Linked DNA regions of Homo sapiens: region 1 is linked to region 2. Evidence: promoter capture Hi-C in 16 types of primary human blood cells and fetal thymus (Javierre and others, 2016). All regions are on one chromosome and are shown on one strand. The core of a region is centred on a gene start or on the middle of the fragment in contact, and the rest is flanking DNA. Distances in the headings are between cores, read along the strand shown. Region 1 has its middle 45 kb from the start of SPAG16-DT. Region 2 holds the start of RPL37A (ribosomal protein L37a).

What was found. The method cuts DNA at HindIII sites, captures the fragments that hold promoters and counts their contacts. A CHiCAGO score of 5 or more calls a contact.
Region 1: a fragment that was not itself captured here is called in contact with the fragment with the promoter of RPL37A in region 2 in 1 of 17 cell types (total B cells); the score reaches 5.4 in total B cells.

The regions. Positions count from the first base shown.
Region 1 is chr2:213,236,860-213,241,144 of GRCh38, forward strand. No RefSeq gene overlaps it. Among named protein-coding and RNA genes, the nearest start is that of SPAG16-DT, 45 kb to the right of the region's middle. The HindIII fragment of the contact is 1,936 bases long and covers 2,027-3,962 here.
Region 2 is chr2:216,497,370-216,501,569 of GRCh38, forward strand. It overlaps RPL37A (ribosomal protein L37a), which reads left to right and starts at 1,475. Exons shown (of 4, transcript NM_000998.5): 1 at 1,475-1,508; 2 at 1,901-2,029; 3 at 2,580-2,662; 4 at 3,972-4,200. The coding sequence starts at 1,506. The coding sequence ends at 4,035. RPL37A-DT (RPL37A divergent transcript) reads right to left here and starts at 1,383. Exons shown (of 4, transcript NR_183317.1): 1 at 1,238-1,383. RefSeq lists enhancers at 892-981, 1,162-1,551. The HindIII fragment of the contact is 3,327 bases long and covers 299-3,625 here.

The DNA of each region.
Region 1 (4,285 bases), core at 1,745-4,244, 3.3 Mb before region 2:
TCCGTGTTTGTGCAGTTAAGTATGAAAATAGATCATAAACACACAAATGCCTTTTGTTTCTTTAGCTAATCTAATTTTATTGGTAAAGAAACCTTTAAATGCATTGTGATTTCTTTCACATGCGGATTAGTATACTCTCATATCTTCATATTCTCTTTTTTAATGGGGGGAAATAGTGCCTCACTTAAACCATGATGTGAGAGGCTCTGATACAATTAAAACGATCTAAACAGCTGTAGAAACATTTCTGAGCCTTGTTGATGAAGAAGTAATCTCGTTTGATGGACGTCTTCATTTCTATCTTAATCACAGCATGCAAGATTAGCAATACATGTGTTTCACTCCACTTAATTGCTCAGAACGCATGCACAAATGCAGGGCTTTACTTCAATTAATTATTTTGAATTTCAATGAACTTAGGAGAGACCACACTGAAAGTATCTGATAGAGTCCTTAGATAAATGTAATGAATGTTAGAGAAACTTTATATAACAGTCTCCTCCAAGTCTTGATTTTCTGCCATCATAGTGAAAGAATCTGAAAATATAAACATGAACATATAAAAATAAATCAGATAATTGGATGACCTAATGTGCTGTCTTTAGCTATAGTCATTAACTGAGGGTTCAAAGAATACTGAAAAACTATTAGATTAACTGTGCCGTGGTTATAGGAAAAAAGGAAAGGCATATGTTCTTACTCATACATTGATCTACCATTTCTGACCCTCATCATAAATTTATTAGTGACTATTCTGTTATACTTGTCTTGAAAAACATTCTAGATTTAAGTCAAGATTGTTTTTAAATTTTCATCATATGTGCTAAAACACCATGTTCTAAACACTTCCTAATTACTGCATATGCAAAAAAGCAATTAGAGTTACTTTATAGTTAGAAACTGGAAATAATACTTTGACTCTGGATTATAGGAAAAGGTTTAAAATTGAGAAATAATATTAGAATATGGACTATAAGGAATTAGGCTAAAAAGAGCCTTTTGTGAAATAAAAGTGAAATAAAAGTGAAATAAAAGGCAGTTTAAGCCTCAGTTTTGTTTATCAGAGACCAAGGTTGGTGACTTGTTCAGAATACCATGGAGAGAAGACAGCAGGCTGTCGTGGATGCTGGAGTTCACGAGAAAGGTACCTTGTAGAAACATGACACCCCAAATCAGCATAATTATGTGAAAGTCAAAATTTATTAGAAAGAATTGTTTCTGGGAAAAAAAGAAAAAATGACTGGGAAGGCAACAGAAAATGTGTATAAAATTAGGCAGAGAAATCTGTTTAAAAAGTACAGAAAAATCATAACAGAGAAAATAGTTTTTTGGCTGGGGCAATTGTTAATTTACTGTAACAACTGAAGTTGAGAATTGTACAAATATAAGTCTAGTAAACATGTATTCCTAACCAGCTGCCCTACATGGGCAGCATTGTAGATGTCTCCATGAGAGAAGAAAAATTGAAAATATTTTAATCTATTTTATCTTAAAATTTATTCCTATATTGAGGAGAAGTGCTAAGTCTGCCGAATTGGGAGGAACCCACCAAGAGTGCTACACAGAAATTAGTATCAATGTACCCCTATCTAAGCAGTAGGCATTTTCATGAGAAATAAATATATAATATAAATAAATTTATTATTACATACCCAGCAGCAAAGGTTTATTTCTCATGGAGACTTGATTTCTGCACTTTGATAGCTGATATATCCTAACTGCATTTGTCTCATGATTTAATGGTAAAATTTTTTATTTTCCATTAAGGTCAGGAATTTTAGTTTTGGACAATTTTTTTTTTTTTAAGAATTGCCTTCCTGGTTCCACTTTGACTCCATTACTAAATGAACATTTAAAAACTTTCTTTAAAAAAAAGCAAAAAAGAGCAAAACAAAAGAAAAACAGAAAAGCCCCTGCAGATTTCAAAAACTCTACTGAAGAAAAAAAGCAACAATGAAAGTCCTCTACTGATAACAAAAAGGGAAAACACCAGTTTGCTTGAGGAGCTAAGCTTTAGTATAACACAAGCTTACGAGCCCCTTCTAAAAAAAGTGGTCAAATGAAAATGCTTCAGAGATTGCTGGTGTATTCTTGAGAAAAAAACAGTTTGGTTGAAAGAACAGTTGCTTTCTGACTTCTGCTAAAAAGTTGAATTCCAACATAGTTGTCAGATGAAACTGTACAATCCAAATCTCCTCTTATTGACAATGGAATCTGGTTTTGGGTAAGTGACTTTATTACTCATCTGTTAGTTATTCTTTGAACAAAAGCAGTCTTGTTGCTCAACCTAAAATCGGAACAGATAAACGTGTAATACCCTTTGCACTGGGACTTGGGGTGTTGCCAAAGCCATGTTAAGAATTCAAGACTAAGTGCCATAATATTAAAGGCAGAATATCAAATTCATTCACACTTAAGGTTCATAAGCTGCAAAAATACACAAGTAATTCCTTCTCCTGAGATAACTCCATTTTAAACTTTTCTATAGTTACCAAACTGGAAAGTTTAGTTTTTCTAAAACCAAGCCATCATGTGCCTTATTGACACAAGGACAGCCAGAAATAACTCACACTAGAAAAATGGAGATTGTTTCAGAATATTATGAAATGAGACAAAATGGTCATATTTATTACACAGATTAGAATGAACTATCCACATAAAGAAGAGAAGCAGTTTGTTCCTAGTATGCGTGTTGTCAATAAATGAAAGAAACAGATGTAAACACCAAGTTCTCACATAGGTACAAAACCGAGGTGGATTTCTTACTCTACATATTTTGAAATCAGGAACAAGTATGAAGGCTTATTTTTATAACAGAACAATATTAGTTGCCAGGATTTTAGTTTTGATTTAAGAATAATTACATATTTTAAAATAGAATAAAAAAGACAAATACTATTAGTTAGTTGTTGGCTCTATTTTTATATGACTTTATGTAATAACATTCGGTTAACTTTAACTTTAACTTAAAAAAAATACTAAGCCTGCAAAATAAGTGAATGTTCAAAGGTAAAACTCTCCTTTGAGGCTGGGTGCGGTGGCTCACGCCTGTCACCCCAGCACTTTGGGAGGCTGAGGTGGGTGGTTTGCTAGGTCAGAAGTTCGAGACCAGCCTGACCAACATAGTGAAACCCCGTCTCTACTAAAAATACAAAAATTAGCCAGGCATGGTGGCTCATGCCTGTAATCCCAGCTACTCAGGAGGCTGAGGCAGGAGAATCTCTTGAACCTGGGAGGTGGAGGTTGCAGTGAGCTGAGATCGCACCACTGCACTCCAGCCTGGGCAACAAGAGCAAAGCTACGTTTCAAAAAACAAACAAACAAACAGACAAAAAACTCTCCTTTGAGAGAGCATTGCTTAGTACTCACAGGCTATTCTTTTTGGACACTTATACTTTAAAATATCGTTATTTTTGTAAGGCTCCTATTTATACATATTGCATAGAATATACAGATATGCATCAAGACATCGTAAAAAATATATAATTGGAGAAATATTTGTTAGGTGAAAATCAATAGTCATTTAAAAGTGAAACATATATTTATACACACATGTACACACACATATATTATATATTTATATACGCTCCCAACAACCCAAGAGAAATTAAAAATAGCATGCATTTTTCATTTGAATTTGTTTTGCCACACTATTTGGTTATTGAATCTCTAAAAATAGTAGATATTAAAAAAAGTTTATTGAATATTCAAAACTCAATAAACATACTTAAGTTTGACATACTAAAATAGTGCCTAACATTTAAGAGTGATTTTATTTATTTTCAGATCTCATGGATTAGTGTTTAAAACTGTGTTACTTTTATCTTAAAACCATTGTGCCAATGTAGCTCAGTCTATCTATAATTGAAAACATTTTAATTGAAAGATGATCCTTGTTCTTAAACAACATTGACCAGTGGCCTTTCCAACTTATGGAGATCTCCAGAACATAAAGAAAAGAAAGCTTACTTTAATTAAATAATATAAGTCAGCACAGTACCTTGTCTGCCTTATATGCTTAGCATCTTTCTACAACAGGTAATGATAATTTTCCCCTAATAACTGAGGTCAACAGTAGCAAATTCCAGTGCCTCTGCAGCCAGGCATGTAAGTAACCTCTGCAGTTGCTAAGTTGGTGTGGGAATTGAGATGAGAGGTTGGTATACTCTGCTTACAGGTATTTAAATTTAGTCTACATTTTTCTCAAACACTGTTCACCAGTGTTTTGCTTTCCTAACATTTTAGGCAGAGGGGCTAAATGAAAACAACAGTTGTTCTACAGTGA
Region 2 (4,200 bases), core at 225-2,724:
AACATCCACATAAAATACTCAGTGCCTACCATGTGTTACCCTCCAACAATTGTAACCATATGAAGTACATAGCTGTTTGCAAGTTGCTTTGATTTGATTTGATTCATATATATTTTTTGAGACAGAGTCTCACTCTGTTGTCCAGGCTGGACTGCAGTGGCGTGATGACAGCTTACTGCAGCCTCAACCTCCCAGGCTCAAATGATCTTCCCACCTCAGCCCAGGTATGCAAGTTGACTTTAATACAATTGTGAGGAAAAGTGAACAGGTGCAAAATTATTTGAGACAGTTAATATTAAGCTTTGGGAACGGAAGCTACTTGTTACCGGACTTCTGATTGGAATCAGGGCCACACAATGCCTTTCAGCTCCCATGGTCTTTCTTGGCCCTCTAATCATGGATTCTCTCTTACACTCTTATTCCAGTAGTTTTCTGAGCTTCTTATTCTCTGGATTAGCCATCCCCTGAAAAAAGGCAACCAAACTTCCTAGTGTGTGTGTTCTACGTGAAGAAAGAAGATCATGTGTCTAGTTCCAGAACACACCCTCCCCACCCCCGGCCTCAACCAGAAATCCAATTCTTCCCTGCTGACCCCTTTGAGAGACCTGGAGGGACAGAGAATTGACGGTGGGTAAAGGGTAAGATGTTGGAGTTTAAGGGTTCAGGCCTGGACCAGGAAGCTGTCTTAACAGCCTAGTGTGGGGCCATGGAAGTGAGTTCTGAAATGAAGTGGAAGGCAGGCCATCCGCACTGAGATGCAGCAGCTGGAACACAAAACTCCAAGGTGACTGTTAACTTTTCCCCAGCCTTCCAATCTCAGACTTTCCTCAGGAAACACCAGGCTCTTCTGAATTAGTCGCGAGCAGAACCATCGTCCTTTCCTTCAGAACTCTGACCAGTTTGAAACTGTCTAACTTCTTAATGTGGCTATATGATCGTTTGCAGCTGGCCTGCAACTTGTTCTGGGAATGGAACCTTGGATTTTAGTCACCACTGTCGCTAGCATCCTGCACAGTCAGCCACTTTTAGAGAGCATAATGCAGAGGGGGAAATAAATGAGATTTGGAATAGAGACGGGGTTTCACCCTGCTGGCCAGGCTGGTCTCGAACTCCTGACCCACCCCGCCTCCCAAAGTGTTAGAATCACAAGCGTGAGCCACCGCGCCCGGCCCCACAAATGTAAGATTTATGCACTTCTCCAAGCCAAGTGCTGTGCATCGAATGGAGGAACTCGTACCTTTGCAGGATTTTGTGATATATGTGAAATAATCCGGACATGCTTCTGCTATGGTTGTTTGTCGCCATAGTTTGCGAATCTGGGTAAACCTGGATGAGAGAGACGCCTTACAATTGCAAACATTTCTCAGGAGGCCGCCTGAAAACGCCCAAACCATAGAGCTCAGTTCCTAGCTAGGCCTCTACCAGCCACTTCCGCTCGTCCGCCTAATACCGCGCCTGCGCACCGCGTCTCTTCCTTTCTGGGCTCGGACCTAGGTCGCGGCGACATGGTGAGTGTGGGTCTCTGTGCGGCCTAGAACTCTATCTGCCTGCATCTGTCCTTGTTTTCTTCTCCCGCACCCATCTCCTCTCCTGCCTTACCCCGTGTTCTCTCCTGTCTCCATGCCTTTGCAGGAGACACCATTGTCGGAAGCTCCCCAAGGCGGAGGGGCGGGGGCGCCTTGGCTGGGCCTGGCGCGCTCCAGCCGGGTTAACGCCGGGCCTTCGGAGCGCGCGGCCAGCCCTGGGCACTGGTTTCGTTGGGTTGAATTTAGGGAAAACTAGGTCATATGTAATTCACATGTCGGTCACACGTCAGTGAGGTGGAGGAACGGTGTGTGGAGGCTCCAGGGCCTGCCTGGGTTCCAGGTCTATCACTGGTTTCTCCCTTCACTCTAAACAGGCCAAACGTACCAAGAAAGTCGGGATCGTCGGTAAATACGGGACCCGCTATGGGGCCTCCCTCCGGAAAATGGTGAAGAAAATTGAAATCAGCCAGCACGCCAAGTACACTTGCTCTTTCTGTGGCAAAGTAAGTAAGGCAAAGTCTCTGGTGAGAGGAGAGGGAGGGCAGGTTTCTTACCCAAGTGAGGCCTGACTTCAAGGTATTTTATAAGCCGTGTGCTGGTGGGCAGTTGGAATTACTCATACCGTTGATTATGAGTTTTAAGATAAAAGTGTTGATGGTAACTTCAGATTTTGTGAGACGTTTTTCATTTAAAGAAAACCGCTTAAACGTTAATGGGTAAAATAATCATTTGACAGAGTGCCCCCAGCCTAAGCCAAACCTGCTTTGTGGGAAATGATTCCATCAGTTTTGTCTACTGATGTTTCTGCACCAACTCCCAAGATGTCTGTGCATCTAATACCATTCTACTTGTTCTGCGAGGGATTTTTGTTTGATAAAGGTTTGAACGTTTATGTGCAAAATACTGCATTACAGCAATCCCTGTTTTGTTTTTGAGGGAGAAAGGGAGGCTTTCACATCCCTGACAATAAGGTGAATCCAAATTTAGACTTCTGGATGCTTGTAAGAGAAAATACTTACTTGGTTCATAGTGAAAATTGGTTCTCTTTTATAGACCAAGATGAAGAGACGAGCTGTGGGGATCTGGCACTGTGGTTCCTGCATGAAGACAGTGGCTGGCGGTGCCTGGACGTACAAGTGAGTCTAGTTCCTTGTGGTATTTGGAAGTGTGTGGACCACATAGGCCCAAATTCCAGGTTGCTGCTGGATGGGCTAGTTTTAACACTTTCTCAGGACTGAGAGAATAAGGATGCCTTTGTATTTTCAGGATTCTTCCGTGGTGGTTTATTTTCAGTTATTGAAAGAGTAAACACAAAACTACCAAAATAGAAGTCGGAAATCTAATTCACAGACTACTTTAGAATTTGATGGTCACTGGGCACATTGTTGTGAACATTGTCATGATACTGTGCAGGTCCATTAGTGGGGCTGAATCTACTGAACGTTGATTTGCACTGCAAGTTTTGATAAAAATAGGTGAAGGGGTCAGTTAGTTCAAAACTGTATTTGGAACTTGAGGCCATCAGGACCACCACAGTTTCGTCTTTCTGAACAGTATTAGACTGCTGCAGGTTTGTGAATCTGCAACTCAGTATCACCTGACAGGGCGATACTACAAACACTATACTACAAACTAGCATCTAGACCTGTGTTGTCCAATACACTAAGCACATATATGGCTAGTGTAATTAAAGAATTGGATTTTAAAGTTTCAGTCAATTTAAACTTAAACCGAAGCAGTGGAAAATGTTGAAATATATATATATTCCTTGTGGGGGTTTTTATTAGGGCAGAATGGAAAATGGGAACTAGAGTGCTTTCTTGGTTCTGATAGGAAAGTGAATTATTTATATACTTACAATACAGGATGGTGATTTTCAGGTATAGTTCCTGAATTTTATGGTAAAACTTTTGTAGTCATTTCAATAGCTGTCTTTCCCAAAGGCACTTTAGTGTCCGCTCTTATTTCCTTAATCATTGTTCTCACTGTATCATCTTGTAATTTATTCATTTCTTGTAATCTGTCCATTCCCTTTTAATAAGTTTAGGTCAGCCTCTTAGAACCATTTCTTTTTCATGGGATGGGGTAGGGGGAGTTAAAGCTTGCTTGTCCACAACTGAGTTACTTATAAAAAAAAAAGCAACTCTGGTTGAGAAATCAGATGCATGAGATTGTATGTCTAATTCTGCAAGATCCTGAAGGCATGGCTCTTAAAGGATGCCATCATGTAGTTTAGAAGCCACTAATTTCCGAGGAGTAATCTAATGTTGGTTAGATCTTTGGATTGACTGCAGCAAAGTATTGGTAGAGCAGTCTATCTCAGTATAATTCTTTCTAGGAAAATTTGGGAAGCGACTTTAACACAAAAACGAGGCAGATTTACTTATTTGCCATTTTCTATGTTAACATGCTTAATTATGTTGGAAACTGAATCTTTCTTTCCAGTACCACTTCCGCTGTCACGGTAAAGTCCGCCATCAGAAGACTGAAGGAGTTGAAAGACCAGTAGACGCTCCTCTACTCTTTGAGACATCACTGGCCTATAATAAATGGGTTAATTTATGTAACAAAATTGCCTTGGCTTGTTAACTTTATTAGACATTCTGATGTTTGCATTGTGTAAATACTGTTGTATTGGAAAAGCATGCCAAGATGGATTATTGTAATTCAGTGT